5 separate regions of the Homo sapiens genome follow, and all the other regions are linked to region 4. The links are contacts of gene promoters, found by promoter capture Hi-C in blood cells and fetal thymus (Javierre and others, 2016). All regions are on one chromosome and are shown on one strand. Each heading gives the region's core, a stretch centred on a gene start or on the middle of the fragment in contact. The rest is flanking DNA. Distances are from core to core; before and after follow the strand shown.

The links. The method cuts DNA at HindIII sites, captures the fragments that hold promoters and counts their contacts. A CHiCAGO score of 5 or more calls a contact.
Region 1: a contact is called between a fragment that was not itself captured here and the fragment with the promoter of GALNT13-AS1 in region 4, in 5 of 17 cell types (M2 macrophages, M0 macrophages, M1 macrophages and 2 more). The highest score is 25.1, in M2 macrophages.
Region 2: a fragment that was not itself captured here is called in contact with the fragment with the promoter of GALNT13-AS1 in region 4 in 4 of 17 cell types (M1 macrophages, M2 macrophages, M0 macrophages and 1 more); the score reaches 7.5 in M1 macrophages.
Region 3: a contact is called between a fragment that was not itself captured here and the fragment with the promoter of GALNT13-AS1 in region 4, in 1 of 17 cell types (M2 macrophages). The highest score is 5.3, in M2 macrophages.
Region 5: a fragment that was not itself captured here is called in contact with the fragment with the promoter of GALNT13-AS1 in region 4 in 5 of 17 cell types (M2 macrophages, M1 macrophages, M0 macrophages and 2 more); the score reaches 17.6 in M2 macrophages.

Annotation. Positions count from the first base shown.
Region 1 is chr2:155,317,420-155,320,119 of GRCh38, reverse strand. No RefSeq gene overlaps it. Among named protein-coding and RNA genes, the nearest start is that of KCNJ3, 620 kb to the right of the region's middle. The HindIII fragment of the contact is 7,488 bases long and covers 1-2,700 here.
Region 2 is chr2:155,187,574-155,190,273 of GRCh38, reverse strand. No RefSeq gene overlaps it. Among named protein-coding and RNA genes, the nearest start is that of KCNJ3, 490 kb to the right of the region's middle. The HindIII fragment of the contact is 439 bases long and covers 1,158-1,596 here.
Region 3 is chr2:155,277,028-155,279,727 of GRCh38, reverse strand. All of the region lies in intron 1 of LOC105373698 (a long non-coding RNA gene), which reads right to left. Among named protein-coding and RNA genes, the nearest start is that of KCNJ3, 580 kb to the right of the region's middle. The HindIII fragment of the contact is 5,541 bases long and covers 1-2,700 here.
Region 4 is chr2:154,456,072-154,458,771 of GRCh38, reverse strand. It overlaps GALNT13-AS1 (GALNT13 antisense RNA 1), which reads left to right and starts at 1,334. Exons shown (of 5, transcript NR_161181.1): 1 at 1,334-1,406; 2 at 1,868-1,975. It also overlaps a transcript of GALNT13 not described here. The HindIII fragment of the contact is 5,662 bases long and covers 640-2,700 here.
Region 5 is chr2:155,296,036-155,298,735 of GRCh38, reverse strand. No RefSeq gene overlaps it. Among named protein-coding and RNA genes, the nearest start is that of KCNJ3, 600 kb to the right of the region's middle. The HindIII fragment of the contact is 2,088 bases long and covers 246-2,333 here.

The sequences.
Region 1 (2,700 bases), core at 66-2,565, 860 kb before region 4:
TTGTTTTATGTGCTCCTTTTGTCTTACTATATAAGGCTACATACGTTTTTATATTTGATACACTTTTTTATTTTATTCATTTTTAAACCAAATTTTACATTATAATGTTGTTTGGAGGGAAAAAAAGAAGAAAGAGAAGTTCCTCCAGATATTTCAGAGATACAGAAATTTTTGGTATAGTCAAAATTGGAGAAGTCGTTTGGAATTTAAAGAAACCTTCATTCCATGTTACTTATTTTTTCACTTAGAAGATGTCTGCTCCAAGTCTACTATCCTACAATTATTGAGCAACAGATTAAGGATATAACAATAAGAGAGATTCATAAATTTGAGAGTAATGCTTCATTTGTCCAAAAGTCTTTTGCAGGATACATTGGTTAAAGCATGAGAAACTTTGCAAAAGTTTTACTACATAGAATCTATGAAAAAATGATTGGAAGGCAGGATGAGTCCATAAAATCCCTGTTGGAAAGGATTATTTCACTGGAGGAAATTATTTAATAGTTTATAGAAGTTTGGCACTCCAGGGACCTTGGAGGTCATGGAGCCCTTGACAGACATCTAGGAAGTGACAAATATAAGCAGCTGTGTAGAGAGACTCTGTCTCAAGAGGGATTAGATTTATAGCAACTAAAAGAGACTCAGAACTACAAGATTTCAGAGAAAGAAACCTGGAAGAAATTAAGTTCCCTCTGACAGATAAAGCAACAGAGAAAGGATTTTATTTGCACAGGATTTTAGAACACTGGAAATAGTTTGGCACTAGCTGAGTCCACATCAATTTCCTGTCCGATAAGACAGAGATCATTTGACATTAACTCCATCAATATCTTTTCTATCACAAAATCTGCCTGTGGCGTCTTCCTTTGTTCTTGTTTTATCGAAAATAATATTTCTGTTCTAACTTCTCTCCACTCGTGTTGTTGCCTTTTTTCTTCCTGTCTTTGCAAAGATGGAGATTTAGGAATCGTTTCTATCTTTCCTTGCAAGCTCCAAATCACTTTTCAACACTCTGCTAAACATCTTCACCTGTAAGTTTCACTAGTAGCTCAAATTGGGATGTTTGAAATAAAGCTCATCATCTTCCTCACAACCTCAAATCGATTTTTCACTAGACGCTTCTCTTTCTGAGAACATAGCATTACTTGAACAGCCACTTTCCCAAAGAAGGAATCCAAATAGCTAATAATCATATAAACAGTGCTAATACATGTTATTAATAATTAATGAAATGTGACAACATCCTAATATTGACATGTTAAGATAGCTCAAATTAAATATCAGCAAGGTCTAATTGAACAAAAATTAATGACAACTCTCATATGAGCTGGTAGGAGTATAAATTGATATGGGTTTGAAAAATAGTTTGATATTATAAGGTAGTTACTCTTGGCACCATTCACAACTTTTGACCCAGAAATTACACTCCCATGCTTATACCCAACAGGAACTCGTGATAATATGCTTGACAAAAATTATTACAAGAAGGTTTATTGCAGCATAAGTCATAGCTCCAAAGAAGAGTGGATAAATATATTGTGGTATATTCATGCAAAATAATACTATCCATCAGTGGAAGCAAATAAACTGCATAGCACAGATGAGTCTCACATAGCATAGGTGGCATAGCACAGACGAGTCTTTATGCCATAGCATAGATGAGTCTCACAAACATGATATTAAGTAATGGAAATCAGATGCAAAAGATTAGGTACTGTGTATTTCCATTTATATGTAAAGTTGTAAGTACTTAAAACCTAAAAGTTAGTAGAAATTCAATGAATTTTAATTATATAGCTGAATAAATGAATGCTCTCCCCTAAGCCTATAATATTCGTTTGCTTTGTCTAGTCTTCCCTTACACATACTTCAAGCCCCAAATCATAGCTTAAAGACAAGACTTTTTTCATCTTTATGCTCTTAGACCTTATAATTTCTGTCACAGAATTTATCACCATGTTATAAGTATCTTTTTACAAGATCATTTGGTTAATTTATCTTTGTATTTTTCATCTTGTCCTCTCCCACCCACTATTTTCTAACATGTAGACTGTGACATGGACCTGTGTAACAATGCGATTGGTTGTTGAAATAATAAATGTTATTTAGCCTGAGTATTTGATGTCCTCAATAATATAGCTTTCAAATGCTATCTACTATTACATTTATATTTCCATTAATTCAAGTGCTTTTTTATGTGAAAATATAGAACAATGTATTTTCATTTAATTATTTTATTGATGCTTTTTTCTCTTTCTCTCTACTAATACCTTTCAAACTTATCTTAATTAATTAGTTAAGAGATCCCTTGATCTCTTAAATAAAATATGATTTCTCCCTACCTGATAAAATGCTTGTCACACTTTCTATTTGATTTATATAAAAGTAATGTTAATTGCAGCAGTATTCACAATTGCAAAGACATGAATTTACCTAGGTAACAAACCTGCACTTGTACCTCTGAACTTAAAATAAAAGTAAAAAAAAAAGGAATTGTATATCTTTCTTATACTTCATGTTGGACTCTAAACTGCTTAAGGCTTGGGACAATTTATTAATGATTCCTTTATCCCTTTATTGCCTAACTCTGCATGTTTCACATGGCAGGAATTTAGTAGAACTAAACTGAATTTCGCTGAATTAAATTAGCTAAGTATGCCCTGTACTGAAATATTGTTACATAGTACAAATTAAAATGTG
Region 2 (2,700 bases), core at 128-2,627, 730 kb before region 4:
TAACTCTTCACTAAAAAGAAAGAATCATTCACAGACAGAATGATATAGACAGAAATACCTGTATCAAGTATCCAACTACTTAATAATCAAAAATATCATGACACATCTAAAAATAAATATTTGGATTTTACTTAAATTGCCTGGAGCATAAATCTTATTTTTATATTATTTTTCTAAAGCATTGGATATGCTTTTCTGCACCAGACACATTCATGAAAGCACGCCAGAGACTGTAAAAATACCCTTTCCATTTTATTTTTCAAGAAATTGCCACGTAGTTCTAAATGTATAGCTTCAGGTAGAATAGTAGTATTTCTTTTATTTGCGGTTTAAACAACTATTTAGTTTTTGAAAAATCTGGTGCCAAGACACAAGATTTGTGTATTTTTAAAAATAATCTATTTCAAGTCTGTGTTTAAAAATTATATTTTCCAAGTATTGCATTATTGGAGTACTTAAGAGTAATTTAGAGAAAAAAGATTTCTCATTTGATATAATTTTTCTTGGTTTCACTGTGTGAAAAGAGGCAGATATTTCATGAAAGCAGGAACTTTGCCCATTAACTCAAGAAATGTGTATCTCAATGATACCTCTGTGGTCTTTTCTAGAGATATAGTCCAAAATTTCCTCATATTTTTAGATTATGCAATTAATAAAAACAACCTCTTTAATTACAGTTTTCTACACATGATCATATAGGATATGCTTTTTTTTATAATTTATGTATCATAGTTTCTAGTTTTTACAAAAGTTGTTATGGGAAGTTTTAATAAGTTGGTGTTCTCTTGATTCATATGAAAGTTGATTGCCTTTTTTGTTCCCTCTATTCAGTGTATGGTGTGTATTTTTCTTATTTGCCGTGGGTACCATATTCCATTTTTCAAATTGAGTGATAGTTTTCTGAAAATTGGTTTTATGTTTTGGTAAACAGTACTTATTGTTGTTTCAAACTGAAGTTTACTAAGAGATCTATCATATTGAGTTTCCTATTGATAATTTAAAATGTTGGCCACTCATGTCAGATTTTATGTCATTTTTGTTGAACCTCTACTTCAACTTATATTTTTTCTGTATTTTTTTATGTGAGGGTGATCATTCTTGCTTTTTATTTGATGTGAAATAGCCTTGTTATTTTATTTTGAAAATTCAGAGAAGCTTAATTTGATATCAAATAAAGTTTGTATTTTACGCAGGAAAAAGCATTCTCTAGTGTACGATTTAAATATATTTGTCCTCATATACACAAAGTTATTAATTAATTTACAATCTATATGCTTGATGTTTAAAATTATAATATTTTTGTATTTTTAAAAAGATGAACTTTATAGTCTACTGTTCTTTCTTGATTGCTAATTTTGGGTGTGATTTCATAAATAGAAATCAGCAGTATAGAATGTTTAATATATTTTCACTCCTTAAAAAGTTAGAACACAGTTTTCAGCTTACAGCGAGGGAAAGGAAGTGATGGAGGACTGTGTTTGCCACAAGAAAAATCTAAATTCAATGAATCACCTTATCATTACATAACAGGCAATTTCTATTATGTTTCCCTTTTCTAGGTTCTGTTGTTATTCGAATCCATAGTTCTTTGAAGCTTTCTGTGAATTTTGCATAACCAAATAAGAATGCATTTTTACTCTGAGTAGAGCTTACAACCTCTAAGCATTACATTCTAATTCTTGAAATCACTTGGATGGAAAGAAGTGAGAAGGTATTCTTCAAGTGGGATGGTTTAGCTAAATTGTCCATTTATTAGGAATAAATGAGAAAAATACATATTTACATAAAGAATCTACTTTATTAGCAATTTTTAAATATGTGACATATTGTTATTAACTGTAGTCACCATGATGTGTAACAGATATCTTAAGCTTATTCCTCCTCTCTAATTGAAATTTTGTTTTGATTGACAAATATCTCCCCAGTCTCCTACCCTCCAGCCTTTGGTAACCACCATTTTACTATCTATGAGTTAGATGCCACATGCAAGTGAGATCATGCTGTATTTGTCTTTCTGTGCCTGGTTTATTTCGCTTACCGTACTGTCTTCCAGGTTCGTCCATGTTGTATGTTAAATGACAGGATTTCTTTTTCTTAGGCTAAATAGTACTCCATTCTGTATATATACCACATTTTTTTTAATCTGTTCATCCATTGATGGACACTTAGTTTGTTTTCATACCTTGACTATCATAAATCATACTGCAATGAACATGGGAGTGCAGCCATCTGTTTAACTTAATATCCTTTCCTTTGGATATATAGCCAGTAGTGGGATTGTTGAATCATGTAATAGTTCTATTTTATAATTTTTTTTTGAGAACCCTCTGTACTGTTTTCCACAGTGGCTGTACTAATTTACATTTCCCCACCAGCAATGTACAAGGGTTCCCTTATCGTCGCATCCTCACCAACACTTAATTATTGTCTTTTTAATAGTAGCCACTCAAACAGGTGTCAGAGGATATCTCATTGTGGTATTACTTTGGATTTCCCTAATGATTAGTGATATTGCACTTTTTTTCACGTACTTCTTGGACTTTTGTATGTCTCCTTTTGAAAAATGTCTATTCAGGTTCTCTGCCTTTTTTTTTTCTTTTTTGACAGAGTCTCACACCGTCACCCAGACTGGAGTGCAGTGGTGTGGTCTTGGTTCACTGCAACCTCCAATCCCAGGTTCAAGTGATTCTCCTGCCTCAG
Region 3 (2,700 bases), core at 182-2,681, 820 kb before region 4:
AAAACCTAGAGCAAGATATCAATATTCAAGTATAAGAAGGTTATAGAACATAAAGAAAATTTAACCCAAAGGTATTTAATAATCAAACTCCCAAAGGTTGAGGACAAAAAAAAAGATCCTAAAAGCAGCAAGATAGAAGAAATGAATAACATGCAAAGGAACTCCAACACATCTGGCAGCAGACTTCAGTAGAAACCTTACAGGCCAGGAGAGGGTGGCATGACATATTTAAAATGATGAAGGAAAAAAATATTTTACCGTAGAATAGCATATTCAATGAAAATATTCTTCAAAAAAGAAGGAAAAATAAAAAATTTCTCAGACAAACAAAAGCTGAGAGACTTCATCAACACCACATCAGACCTACTAGAAATGCTAAAAGGAGTTTTTCCATCTGAAACAACAGAATGTTAATAAGCAATAATAAATCATCTGAAGGTCCAAAACTTACAGGTAATAGTAGGTAAGCAAAAAATCACAGAATATTATCACAGAATATTATAACACTGTAATTGTGATGTGTAAACTACTCACATCCTGGGTAGAAAAACTGAAAGATGAACCAATTGAAAATAAAAACTACAACTTCTCAAGACATAAACAGTACAAGGAGATATAAATACAAAGGACAACATCTTAAAAAGTGAATAGACAAAGTGTAGAGTTGTTATTCATTTTCTCTTGTTTGTTTGTGTGTGCAGTTAGTGTAAAATCATCATCAGATTAAAATAATGAATATTATTTGCAAGTATCATGGTAATCTCAAATTAAAAAAATACAGAGGATACACAAAAAATAAAAAGCAAGAAACTAAATAACATAACCAGAGAAAATCACCTTCACTAAAAGGAAGACAGGAAGAAAGAAAAACAAAAAAGGAAGACAAGACCAGAAAACAATCAGAATACAAATAACAAAAATGGCAGGAGTAAGTCCTTACTTATCAATAATAATATTGACTGTAAATGGACTAAACTACCCATTCAAAAGACAGAGTAGCTGAATGGATTAAAAAAAAAAACCAAATAGGAACAAGACACACATACACTGATAATAAAGTGATGAAAAAGGTATTCCATGCCAATGGAAACCAAAAAAGAAAAAGTGTAGCTATATTTGTATCACTAATAGATTTCAAGACAAAAACTATGAAAAGAGACAGAGAAGGTCATTATATAATGATAAAGGGCTCAAGTGATCTAGAAGATATGAAAATTTTAAATACATATGCACACAATACTAGAGCACCCAGATATATAAAGAAAATATTACTAGAGCTAAATAGAGAGATAGACTTCAATAAAATAATAGCTGGAGGCTGTAACACCTCACTTACAGCAGTGGACAGATCTTTCAGACAAAAAAATCAACAAAGAGACTTCAGGCTTATTCTGCAGTCTAGACTAAGTGAACATAATAGATATTTACAAAACATTTTATCCAACAGATGCAGAATATGCATGATGTTTTCTCAGCCCATGAATCATTTCTCAAGGATAGACCATATATTAGGTCACAAAACAAGTCTTAAAACATTCAAAGAAGTTGAAATAATATTAAGCATGTTCTCTGACCATGATAGAATAAAACTATAAATCAATGACAAGAGGAATTTTGGAAAGTATACAAATACATGGAAATTAAGCAATAAGCTCCTGAATGACTAACAGGTGAATGAATCAATTAAGAAAAAAATTTAAAAATGTATTGAAACAAATAAAAATGGAAACACAGCATACCAAAACTTATAGGATACAGCAAAAGCAATAGTAAGATGGAAATTTGTAGCTATATGTGCTTACATAAGAAAAGTAGAAAAACTTCAAATAAACAACCTAATGATGCATCTTAAATAGCTAGAAAAGCAAGAGCAAACCAAGTTCAAAATTAGTAGAAGAAAGGAAATAATTAAAATATAGCAGAAATAAATGAAATTGAAAAAAAGAAAACAATGCAAAAGATCAGTATAACCCAAAGCAGCTTTTTTGAAAAGATAAACAAAATTGGCAAACCTTTATCCAAACTAAGAAAAAAAAACAGGCTGGGCGTGGTGGCTCATGCCTGTAACCCCAGCACTTTGGGAAGCTGAGGCAGGCAGATCACCTGAGGTTGGGAGTTCGAGACCAGCCTGACCAACATGGAGAAACCCCGTCTCTACTAAAAATACAAAATTAGTTGGGCGTGGTGGCACATGCCTGTAATCCCAGCTACTCAGGAGGCTGAGGCAGGAGAATCGCTTGAACCCAGGAGGCGGAGGTTGCAGTGAGCTGAGATCGCGCCATTGCACTCCAGCCTTGGCAACAAGAGTGAAATTCCGTCTCAAACAAACAAACAAAACAGAGAAGCCTCAAATAGAGATGAGAAAGAACACATTACATCCAATACCACAGAAATTTAATAGATCATTAGAGGCTACTTTGAGCAACTATATGCCAATAAATTGGAATACCATGGAATGGACAAATTCCTAGATACATACAAGCTACCAAGATTGAAACATGAAGAAATACGGACCTGCACAGAGCAATAAGGAATAACAATTGACACCATATAAAAAATCGCCTAGCAAAGAGAAGCCCATGAAACAAAGGCTTCACTGCTGAATTTTACCAAACATTTAAGAAATAACTAATATCAATCATACTTAAACTATTAAAAAAATAGAGAAACAGAGAATACTTCCAAACTCATTCTACAAGG
Region 4 (2,700 bases), core at 85-2,584:
TTTATGCAAAACAGGAAGCCACTGGATAGTTTTGAGCAGAAGAGAGACATATCTGAGTTACATTTTATATCATTATTCTGGTTCTCTTTTAAACAATTTTTTTATATAAATTTAAGGCTCTCTCTGAGAACAGACTATGGAGGAGGCAAGGGTGGAAGCAACTTGGAAACCAGTCAGGAGACTCCGGCTATCATTTAGTTGGTGGTACAGACCAGAATGGGAGTAGTTGAGGTGTTAAGAAGTGGTCAGATTCAGCAAACACTGTGAAGGTGGAATTAAGGAGATTTTCTAATGGAGAGAGAGATTTCAAGGATACCAAGATTTTAGGCCTGAGCAGCTGGCAAAATGGAGTTGCCATCAACTGAGATGGAAATCTCTGGGTTGAACAGATTTGTAGGAGAAGGCAAAAAGTTAAGTTTTGGACAAACCAAGTTTCAGGTGTCTATTAGTTATCCAAGTGTAGATGTCAAGTAGGCAGTTTTTGAACTGGATAGAGATATTTGGGAGTCATCAGCATCGGAGACATTGAAATATGTGCTTCTGGATGAGATCACCAAAGAGTCAATGCAAATTGAGAAGGCCAAGGACTGCACCTCGAGGCACTCCAATATTAAGACATGGGAGAAAGAAGGGAAAGCTTAGCAAAGGAAACTGGAAATCAATGGCCAATGAGGTGGAAGGAAAACCAAAAAATGAAGAAAGAATATCCAAAGGAGGAGTTGGTGAGCTGCTGAGGCAAATGATTCTAAATCCACTAATGGAAACTAGAGTTTTAAAAAGCTAACTATGTGGGAAAAAATGGATTCTCCACCCCTTTGGTCCATATAAATAAAGGAAGAAATTTGAAGTGCTTTTATATATGCAACTTAACTTCATGTCGTTGTTTAAAAGCCAAAACGTTTCACAGGTACATAGGGAAAGCAAGCTGCAGGCTCAGGGCTGAGAACACAGGTCCCATTAGTCTTAAGGAAGGGTGTTTTAAATTCTGACCTCAATTGTTTAGACAATGTTGATTTCACAGCCTCCACCTTATATATATTATCATGTAGGAGATAGAGTGCTTGCTGCAGTAAGTTCAGGTGTTTTGTGTTGCAGAGAAAACTGTAAAATCTGTTTTAGATGTTTGCATGTTTACCTAGTTTTTCACTTCAAAAAATTGGTGAAGAGACTTCTGTCAAAAGAATTTCAGTGGGCTACCTACCACCTCTTTCCCACAGTGGAAGCAGAGATTGGTGATTAATATCCTCTGTCCTGCGGGGGAAAAAATTCATGATGTCAGAAAATGAGTGAGTCAACAGAAAGCCTACCTAAGAGTCTCCTTGGCTGAGGAGGAAGACGAAAGCACAGTTCTGAGCATGAGAGCTCACATTCTGTTTCTACCAGGTGCTGAAGAAAAGCAAGACAGGGTAAGTTATGGATCTATCAAAGCCTGAAGTGGGTGGGGTTGCTTTATTAGGTTATACTTGAGTACCTGGTTACTGCTGGAAATGTATGCTGTGCGTGGACAAGAGTAACCGAAAAGAGAGTAACAGAGTTGGGTATCTGGAGTCACACTTGGTTTACAGAAAGCCAAGAAGGGACAAAATCTAGAAATGTCCTTTACACTTGCTGACAGTTATAAGTTGCGGAAAACTAGCGAGGTGTTCATGTTTGCAAATCAATGGACTTCTGAACAGGAACTTTCAGATGAGTCTCTTCAGAATAAAATTATGAAAACAGATTATTAGCATCGTCTTTCTCTCTTCCCTTCCCTCCCCTCCCCTTCCCTTTCCTTTCCTTTCCTTCTTCTTTATTCTTGCTTCCCTCTTCCTCCCCTTCCTTCCTTTCTCCACCTTAGAAAATTAAATGCTCTTTTTGATTATCTTAGTGGTTAAGACTGAAGAGTTGATCCTGCGCTGTGCTGTGGAGTGGGCAGCTTCTCTCCATCTTCTCTCACCCTGACACACTGTCTTAGGATTCCAGTCTCAGAAGCCAGGTATTGGGTATGGTCTATATTCTGAAAAATAATTTTTATCATTGATGTGAGACTTTTAAATTTTTCTATTTTTAGTCATTTTTATAAAACAGAAAGAAAAAAAATCCACCTCAAATCATTTCAGAATCAAAAATAAATAAAAATAAATGCTTTAAAATCATGCATATTTTAGTGTTTCTATTTTATATATTTTGATAACAAAATTGTACTGGGAACACAACATTTTCTTGGTGCAAGGAGATATTCATAGGCACTTAATCATTTATTTAAATAATCCACAAACATGGAGGTTAAGCATAAAATAGTGACGTTGTTTATCTATTTGAAATGTTAACCATTTATTTTCCAAAAAGGCAATATATACCAAAGGAAAACTAAATTGGCATATTTTAACTCTACAAAAATGTATGAATATTTAAATTTACAGCAAAAGAACAATTATATCATCTAATAATGCTTACAGTATTTAAAATCTGTCATTATGCACAATCTACTTTTATAAATGTTAAAGAACCATGTGCCAAGCATATATCTAAAACATTTTTGAAATTACTCCTTTCTAGCTGTGGCTACACTGACCAAAACAACAACAACAACAACAACAAAACAAAACAAAACAAAAAAAGCTGAAATACAAAAAAAAAAAAACAAAAAAAGACATGTAATCATCAAGTTCTTTTTTCCCCCTTGTGCTATTTTTAGCAGAAATTTCAGCACAACTGGAA
Region 5 (2,700 bases), core at 40-2,539, 840 kb before region 4:
ATTTATGTATTTAGGCACAAATTTTGTAACATTTATGATTTGACATATAGCACACACAAATAATATTGTCCCAAAGTATTTCCATTACATTTGCAGTTTGGTTTTGTAAGAAGTCTTTCTCCCTTTCTCCTTTTTTCCTCTCCTTCTGTCTTACTTCTGTTGTTCTGCATTTGTTTTTTGATAAAGAAAAAACAAAAACTTTTAAAACATATGAGGAACCCTAGGTAAGTAACCCTAGGAAAGCTTACACGTAATATAATTTTAGACACTCTGATTTTATCTTTGGTATATGCTGCTGAAAATTTATACTAAGAGGAAATCATACTTGGAAGGCTTTATTTCCTAAGGCCTTGGTGACTCTGGGTGGGAAAACACATTTTCACATTACATGTAACTCTGGTGTGTGAAAAATGAAAACAATATATATATTTAACCCCAGAGCCTTGAAAAGCAGTTAGGAAATCCCTGAGAAAGCAAATGTGATTGTGGCTTCAACTTTGCTTGAAAGTAATTTTTCAACTGCAATCAACTTTTACCTTCCATAAGAAAGGGAACTGAAACTCAAATAAAAGTATTTCATCATGAATGTTAAATCAGGAAAGTTCTTAAAGATTATTTGATCTCAAATCTTTATTTTGTGAGTGATAAAACAGTAGTCTATTTGCTTAAGTCAGATAATAACTATCGGCTGGTTCTGTGCTCTTGACTGTGATCTCCACCCCTTGCTTATTTTACAAAGACCAAGGCAGTCACTGTAAATTTCCTTCCCTTATTTATGATGTTTTCTCTAATTTATAAAAAAATTCTACAAACTATCTTATTAAAAAATACAATTAGTGATTAAATATTTTGAAGGAGAATGACCTTTTAGTTTTAGAAATAATAAAAAATGAAAATTTTATTCCCGTTTGTTTCCTGGAAAATAGGAAATATTATGTTTATTGAAAAAAGAAGAAAATGTTTTGTCACATGCATTGGTTCGTGACTTACGTCACTATTTTCCATATCAGAGAAAAATTAGTATGCTTTTTTTTTTTAGCAATCTTTGATCTTGTAATCTAAGGTTTTATGCTGGATTATAGCAGAATTTCAACAGCAGCAGCACATTTAATTATGAACTTTATATTTTCTTTGTGGATTATCCATTAGATGGCAATATTATAATATATATTTGGAATTTTGAATCTACTTCTATGCAATGCTGAGAGAAATAGTGCTGCTTTTTTATTTTCATAGTTCTAAAATAAGATTTATGATGGATGCTACCTTATAGTTTAAGGATGACTGTGTGCAAGACAATGCTGCTGTGTGGGGCTAAACATGCTGTGCTTGAAAGCCATTTTATGACAAGTTTATACATCTTACACAAAACCTCAAGTACTTCTATCTTTTTAAACTACAGTTCAAACGGTGACTTCAACCTTTGTGATTTTTTATAAAATTTGGCCAACACTTAGTGAGATATACATGTGCTGTAGAAGTGGGAATTCTAGTTTATGACGTATTATTCCAATCAGTGGAGATAAAAAAGGATTTTCCTTATAATTTTTTTTAAATAATAAAATAAGCAAAATTTCAAAATAAAGTAGTGGTAAAGAATGTACTAGTGCTTAGCTATTGTGAATTGTGCAGCCTTTAGACAAATACTTAAGTCCTCTGGTCTCAGAAAGAGTACCACTCAAAATGAGGTCTGTGGACCAATGCCTTCATCACCTGCATCAGCAGCACCAGCAACACCTGGAAACTTAATAGAAGTGCAGATTCTCAAGGGATGCCCAGAACTGCTGAACTATATATTCTGTGGGTGAGACCTAGCAACCTGTAAGTTAACACACACTGTCCAGATGATTCTCATGCCCCTAAAGTTTGAGATGCTCTGCTTTAGATACCCCATTTGAAATGAGGGATTAGACTGTATTTCTGACTGAAGTCACTTTCAGCAGTTAAGTTAAATGGCTTATTAATTATAAGTGAATAAGGAAGGGAATAGTGACGATGAATGATGATGAATAACTGTAATAAAATTAATGTGATTTTATCATCTTCCCGATTGAGTTACATTTTAATGTGTCAGAGGCATAAAAAGATAAAACTATTCTTTCAACAAGAAGGTGTTCTAATATCAGAATGTATACATTTTAATTGTTAGGACTAATTCGATTACCTTCTGAAAGCACATGCTCTTCTTCCTTAATTAAATTTTTCTTATTTTGAGAGACAAGTTCTTCCTGTATTGCCCAGACTGGCCTCAAATTCCCGGGTATAAGCCTCAAATTTTCACCTCAGCCTCCTGAGTAGCTGGGACTATAGTCATGCACCAAGTGCACCAAGCTTAAAATTTGTTATTTTTTAGATTATTGTAGATTCACAGGCGGTTGTAAGAAAGGAAACAGAGATTCCGTGTACTTTTATCCCAGTTCCCCCAAGGGTAGTATCTCACAAAAGTACAATAAAATATCACAGCTAGGATATTGACATTGATATAGTAAAGATAGCTATACCCACTTCCTTCCTGTCCTTCCAATGTTCTAAGTGGATTGCTTACTTTTCTATTGTTGGTTTAAAAAATTGTATACATATTCTACATAATAGTCCTCTGTATAATACCTAGTATGTAAATATTTTCTTCCACTCTGTAATTTATCTTTTTATTCTATTAACGGGGTCTTATCCAAGTCAACAGTTTTTAATTTTGATGAT